2 separate regions of the Homo sapiens genome follow, and region 1 is linked to region 2. Evidence: promoter capture Hi-C in 16 types of primary human blood cells and fetal thymus (Javierre and others, 2016). All regions are on one chromosome and are shown on one strand. Each heading gives the region's core, a stretch centred on a gene start or on the middle of the fragment in contact. The rest is flanking DNA. Distances are from core to core; before and after follow the strand shown.

Region 1 (3,771 bases), core at 760-3,259, 850 kb before region 2:
TCGCGCGCAACACGTGACCCCACTGGCCGGCGGCCGGCAGTGCGCATGTGCACGGCTACGCGGGCGGGGGGCTCCAACAGGTGACACCGGGGCGGGGTTCGCAGCGCGCAGGCGCGTTCGGGTAGGTAGCGCAGGACAGGAACTCTGGGCGGTTCCGCCGGGGCGTCCACCGGCCGGCTCCAATGAGGTCGCTGCGCCCAGCCCTCGCCCACTTGCAGCCTCTCCACCGAACCTCCTCCCTCACTCAGCCCGAGGCGCTGGGCGCTCGCTCGCTCGCTGGACCTACCCCGCCTCCAGCCCTCGCCCCGCCCCACCGAGCAAGAGGGCGGGGCCTACCCAAGCTCCGCCCTGGAAGAGAGACAGGGGCGGGGCTCACCTGCTTGTCCATGTCCTTTAAGCCTGGGGAAATGGAAATGGGGCCCACCATATGTTTCTTAATAATTCAGCACCTGAAAGTATCCTTTTCCGGTCCGTTGAAAACTTCAGACAGGCAGAGCTCGCTGCACATCTTAAATACTTTACAGAGTCTAACACTAAGTTCTCACTCGCCTACCCTGCTGTGCAATCAAATGGCATGGAGGATATTAAGGAGAGAAACGGAGTATACCCGTTTTCTGCCAAGCTTGTGTCAGTCACTTTTCATAATGGAGCTTATACCAGTTCTCAATCCTGCAAGATGGACATCATCTCTAGAAGAAACGGAGGCTCAGAGAGAATTATTTGCCCAGGGAAATACAAAACCAACCTCTTTAGCATCAGTAAATATGCTCTAGTCTAGTTTTCTAAGGAAAGCACGTTTCTCCCTGCGGCTTGCAGAGTCCAGTTAACAAGAGATTGAGCTCAGGAGTCCGAGACCAGCCTGGGCAACATGGCGAAACCCTGTCTCTACAAAAAATTACAAATATTAGCCGGGTGTGGTGGTGCGTGCCTGTAGTCCTACCTACTGAGAGGCCGAGGCAGGAGAATCGCTGTGGCCCCGGAGGTCCAAGCTGCAATGAGCTGTCAACTGCACTCCAACCCGGGTGACAAGGTGAGACCCTGTCTCAAACTAAAACAAACAAAAAAACCGAGAGCGGAGTAATGGGGAAGTGGCCAGATTCCCATCTAAAGTAACCACTTCGATTTTGGGGGGAAAGAGAACGGCTTAAAAGGAAAATTTGATATGGGAAGCATGCAAGAATTGTACAGAGTACAACGTCTGTGTGTCTTGTTCTGGTGGCTATCTTGGGTCCCAGCCTACCTGGAGCGTGGGCTGGTCTCATCTCCACAATGGCCCCGCTGTTGACTAGCCACCTTGAAGTAATCTTTGGAATTTTGCAGCTGTGTCTCCAGGCTTGGTTTGTCTGTCTCAAGATTAGCCCTTGGAACTTCTCAGAAGGCAGATAATTAAATACTAGCATACAGTAAGATAAATGTGAAGGGAGTATATACAGTGAGAAAGGGAGGGATATGGGGTCTATTTTACAGCTAAGGGAAAAGGCTTTTGCAGTTTGCTTCAAGGTTGTATCTTGAAACCCAAGAGAAAGGAAAAAAAGTTTTAAAATGTATTTTAAAGTTAAACTGCTGGATTAGTTTCTTCTGTCTAAAACATTGCCATCTCCTCTCCTGCCTATGCCTTGAACTTTTAAATTATGTTTTCTAGTTAGCGATCTCCCAGTTTACTTGGACAAAGGGCTTTTCCATCTCCTGATTGCTTACTTTTTTTCTTTTTTTTTTTTTTGAGACAGGATCTCATTCTGTCACCCAGGCTAGAGTGCAGTGGTGCGATCTCCACTCACTGCAACCTGCACCTCCCAGGCTCAAGCAATCCTCTCACCTCAGCCTCTTGAGTAGCTGGGACCACAGGCACGTGCCACCATGCCCAGCATTTTTTTTTTTTTTTTTGTAGAAACATGTTTTTGCTATGTGCCCAGGCTGATCTCAAACTCCTGAGCTCAGGGGATCAACCCACATCAGCCTCCCAAAGTGCTGGGATTACAGGCGTGAGCCACCATGCCCTGCCCATTACCATATTTAAATTGAGATTTCACATCCATATTTCTCATTCCTTTTAAAATTATTTAAAAATTTTTATAATGAAACATTTAAGATATAAACAAAGATACACAATATTTAACATTTACTAGAATGCAAGCTCCAGAAGGAGAAATTTTTTTATTGCTTCTCCAAGTGTCTCGTGTCTACAGCAGTGCATGGTACATAGTAGGCACTCAATAGTTCCTTGTTGTGTGAATTAACTACATGGACATCTATTACCAGTTTAAGGGAAAAAAAAAAGCAGGTGAGCGGGCGCGTCCCCGCGACCGCGCTGCCTCCCCGAGGCGGTTCACGTAAAGCCAGCGAGGCCCTGCCTGCCAGCCGGGAAGGAGGCGTGGTTATGGAGCTGGCGGCTGCAACCCCGGGGCCCGCGCCGCTGCCTAGCGCTTCCCGGGGGCTCTTTGGGGACGCGCCCCCCGCCGCGGCTCGGGGACCCGTAGAGCCCGGCGCTGCGCGGTTGGCCCTTCTCCCGCGCCCCGCGCTCACCCTCCTGCTCCTCCTCATGGCCGCTGTTATCAGGTGCCTGGAGCAGGCCTAGACCACCGACTGGAGGGCCACCCTGAAGACCATCCGGAACGGCGTTCATAAGATAGACACGTACCTGAACGCCGCCTTGGACCTCCTGGGAGGCGAGGACGGTCTCTGCCAGTATAAATGCAGTGACGGATCTAAGCCTTTCCCACGTTATGGTTATAAACCCTCCCCACCGAATGGATGTGGCTCTCCACTGTTTGGCGTTCATCTTAACATTGGTATCCCTTCCCTGACAAAGTGTTGCAACTAACACGACAGGTGCTATGAGAACTGTGGCAAAAGCAAGAATGACTGTGATGAGAAATTCCAGTATTGCCTCTCCAAGATCTGCCGAGAAGTACAGAAAACACTAGGACTAACTTAGCATGTTCAGGCATGTGAAACAACAATGGAGCTCTTGTTTGACAGTGTTATACATTTAGGTTGTAAACCATATCTGGACAGCCAACGAGCCACATGCAGGTGTCATTATGAAGAAAAAACCGATATTTAAAGGAGATGCTGACAGCTGGTGACAGATGAAGACGGAAGAACATAACCTTTGACAAATAACTAATGTTTTTACAACATAAAACTATCTGATTTTTGTGAAAAAAGAAAAACAAACATAGTTGGAGCTACCTGTACATCTCCCATATTGCAACACCTCCCTTTCCCAAAGATGTACCCATTATCCTAAATTTAGTGTTTATTATTCCTGAGCATTTCTATTTCTGTGTAGGTATCCTTAAGCAATACATAGTATTTTTTTTGCCAGCTTTTAAAAATTATATCATTGGTTACATACAGTGTAATTCTTCAACCTTTTTCTACTCAACCCTGTTTGTAAGCTTCACTCAAATTGACATGTATACTGTATCTAGTTAGCTGATTTTCATTTCTGTTATGATTCCATAGCATGAAAATAAGTCACTTTCCCAATGGCTTACCATTATAGAGTGCTATGAACTTTTTGTATATGACTCTTGGTGTACGTATGTGAATTTCTCTAGAGCATATACTTAGGAATGGAATTGCTGGCTGCATTAGTCAGGTTTCTCTAGAGGAACAGAACTAATAGGATATATATATATATATATGTGTGTGTGTGTGTGTATATATATATGTGTGTGTGTGTGTATATATATGTGTGTATATATATATATGTGTATATATATATATAGTCCCACAATAGGCTGTCTGCATGCTCTATTAACCATC
Region 2 (3,361 bases), core at 770-3,269:
AGTCTACTTTCAGCCTGGTGCCAGGAAGCTGTGGGCCACCCTGGCAGAACTCAGTACGCACAGCCTGACCTACCGATGGAATTTTCTCTTGCACACAGCTTGCACTTCTGGACCATGGAAGCACTGCCACGGCCCCCCTTCAGTGCCACACTGTCCTGGCAAAAAGCAAACAGAACTTTCAGTCACATATGAATTAGATGTACAGTCCTGAGGAGATCGAGCCCACCATTTATTGTCCACTTAAAGAGACCAAGACCCAGAAAGGGTAACTTACTAGGACAAGACTCCTGGGAAGGCTTCCTGAGGAAAATAAAAAAAGGGCTTCCCCTTGATTTTGAACTCTGCCTCATACCTCAAAGATGCCTATTGAATCCAGTGCTGATCACACTGACACCTACCCTCCCAAACCACAAAAAGCAGGGAGCAAAGAACTGGAGAGATGAAGGCCAGTTTCCCCAAATCCCTGCCCAGAAGTGTATGTGTGTTTGTGAGTGTTTATGTTGGGGGTTGGGCGGGGAACAGTTACCATCAGCCGGATGTACTGCCACTTGTCCGAAATCTCACCACAGTTGCCACATTTCATCTTTGGGGAAAAAGAATGTTAGTAAAGCAGCTGGCTCTGCTGCACAGACACCAAGGAAAGGGTAAGAACAGTGGGAGGTGGGCAGGCTCATGATCTACCTTCTTGATGGCAATCTCACTTCATCCCTAACACCTGCCCCAACAAGGACAAAACTAGAACTATCTCTGGGCAAAGGATAGGTAAGGCTGTTTCCTATGCCGGCGTGCCCACCCTCCTCTATGAAGTGCTCAGTGTGGCCGGGGATTCAAGGCACCTGTGGTGCAGAAATGGTTTCAGCGGAGGTGAGGGGGGGGAATATGGAGAGATTTGTTAGAAGATACAAAATTACAGCTATATGGGAGGAATAAGTTCTAGTGTTCTATAGCACTGTAGGATGACTATAGCTGACAATAATATATAGTTTCAAATAGCTAGGATATTAAATGCTCCCAACACAAAGAAATGATACACGTTTGAGGTGAATATGCTAACTACCTTGATCTGATCACAATACATTACATTTATCGGAACATCACTATATACCCCATAAATATGTACAATTCTGTGTCAATTAAGAAAAAAAAAGAGAAATGGCCTCAGCAGGCCCCCGACCCACTCTGCTTGGTTAGCTTTATGTTCCCACAGGCCCTGTATGTCACTGGTATAAGCACTTATCACTCTATTGTTACTCTATTTTTCTGTCTCCTTCACTCGATTCCGCTTCTTCAAGCCAAAGAACAGATTCTCCCAAGTAAGCCCTGGTATTCAGGCTTCAAAATCCTGGGAAACAAAAGTAGTCCGGAGGCAGCTTCCCGAAAAACAGGGCTTTTGAGAGGTACAGAAGGATGCTGGGATTTTTGACCAGGAGTAAAACAGAGCAGAAGCTCTGGGATCTGGAAGAGTGAAGAGCCTCGAACTGCTGGGGAAGGGGAGGCCTCTGTAGACCATGCCACTAGGGTACCAGCTTTACCAGTGTGGGAGGGCTAAGGAAGGGTGGATTACGCACAAAATTAAACTATTTCACAATAAAGAAAACCAAATCAATAAACGAAAGGCGAACTATTCACCTTATTAAATAATCACAAGCGTCCCTTCAAGTAGCATTTCGTTTAGTGTCCATTTACAGACCACGAAATATTTAACACAGGGAAGAACTACAAAATGAAGCTTTCCAAGACTGCCAATTAGAGATAAACCAATACACTTTAATAGAAAGCAAACGTAAAATTCTAACTAGGAAAACCCCGAACACTTAATGTGCCTGGTTAAATATTTTCTCATACTGCCGGAGAGAAGGCTCCGGTTCAGCACTGAGATCAGGACGGGCCTCCTCTCCCCGGGCCCCGCCCCGGCCGCACCTTCAGGTACCACCGGAAGTCCTCGCCCACGGGCCGGAGGTTGGTGATGTTCTCCAGCGTGGCTTTGAGTTGCAGCGCGATTTTCTGAGGGGGAGGGCCAGAGCGACTGCGTCAGCCGTGCCTGCGCAGCCCCACGCCTGCCCGACCCTCCCGCATTCCCAGCCGTGGGTGCCACAGGGAGACACTCCTTCTGCCTCCTGCTCCTTCAGCGCGCACCCACTCGCTTCATCTCCTCCTGGCGCGAGCTGTTGCCTCCCAGACCCTCGCCACCTCCCCTCCGTGTCCCCGCGGCGGGCGGCCTCCCCTCACCCCCATGGTAGCCCTCTCCGCCCGGTGCTGGCTGCGGCCCTTGCCGTTGCTTTCCGGCGCGTCGTAAAAGGCGGGTGCCGTCTGCGCACCCTCAGTAGGGCGGGGCCGGGGCCGGGCCGCGGGGCAGGGACTTCTGCGCGCCGCTGCTCGCCTGGCCCACTGGGCTTTTCGCATCTGGGGATCTGGGGCCAGTGGAGGTCAGCCAGGTCCGCGAGCAACCTGTGCTCAGGCCAGCGGAAGCCTGACTCCAGGATTCGGTGGTGCCACAGACAGTTACTGAACGCCAATTTTGTGCCTGCTTTAAGCGAACAGGACAGTTCCTGACCCTCAGTTCTTTCCAGGCTCTTCACTACTCTGCCTGCCCTGGAACTTCTCAGATCACGTCAGCTCCCTCTGCCCAGGGGAAAAGCTACAAAAGGAAGAGTTCCAAGACTGCCAAATAAAGATAAACCAATACGCTTTAAAAAGTAGAATGTATTGGTTTATCAGATTTGGGGATGATGCCTTTCTTCAAACTGCCCTTTCCTGTTTCACCCAAGAGACCTGGTTTCTAGGCCCTTCTCCAGAGTTTGCCCTGTGTCCACATCCTTCTCACTGTGGTCCTTGCGACTGGACATTCCCCTTCAGCTGGCTCTTTTTTGGGAGCCCACCTGGCTTATCCTTCTCTCATAACGTTTATTGAACTTTATTTTACCTGGCCTCCTGTCCAGGCTACATCTGAGACCATGCAGGAGCTGTGGAGATTAACGGTAAAAGGAACAGCACATTCAAGACTCTTCTAGGAGGTGGGGCAAGATAGCCAAATAGAACCCTCCAGTGATCCTCCTCCTCCTCTTCCCTGGCAGGAACACCAAACTGAACAACTATCCACACAAGAAAGCACCTTCATGAGAACCAAAACTCAGGTAGCAATCACAGTAGCTGGTTGTAACGTCACATCAAGATATAAGGCAATGGCTGGGTGCGGTGGCTCACACCTGTAATCCCAGTGCTTTGGGAGGCTGAGGCGGGCAGACCACCTGAGGTCAGGAGTTTGAGACCTAGCTGGCCAACATAGTGAAACCCTGTCTCTACTAAAAATACAAAAATCAGCCGAGTATGGCAGTGCACACCTGTAGTCCCAGCTACTCCG

The links. The method cuts DNA at HindIII sites, captures the fragments that hold promoters and counts their contacts. A CHiCAGO score of 5 or more calls a contact.
Region 1: a fragment that was not itself captured here is called in contact with the fragment with the promoter of CZIB-DT in region 2 in 2 of 17 cell types (fetal thymus and monocytes); the score reaches 5.6 in fetal thymus.

The regions. Positions count from the first base shown.
Region 1 is chr1:52,366,182-52,369,952 of GRCh38, forward strand. It overlaps CC2D1B (coiled-coil and C2 domain containing 1B), which reads right to left and starts at 24. Exons shown (of 25, transcript NM_001330585.2): 1 at 1-24. It also overlaps the pseudogene PLA2G12AP1. RefSeq lists silencers at 1-403, 2,386-2,485, 2,546-2,625 and an enhancer at 2,216-2,265. The HindIII fragment of the contact is 2,779 bases long and covers 621-3,399 here.
Region 2 is chr1:53,218,341-53,221,701 of GRCh38, forward strand. It overlaps CZIB-DT (CZIB divergent transcript), which reads left to right and starts at 2,020. Exons shown (of 1, transcript NR_185918.1): 1 at 2,020-3,361. It overlaps CZIB (CXXC motif containing zinc binding protein), which reads right to left and starts at 2,294. Exons shown (of 8, transcript NM_017887.3): 1 at 2,230-2,294; 2 at 1,921-2,004; 3 at 527-583; 4 at 74-155. The coding sequence starts at 2,235. RefSeq lists an enhancer at 1,695-2,196 and silencers at 2,066-2,435, 2,566-2,625. The HindIII fragment of the contact is 4,059 bases long and covers 1,728-3,361 here.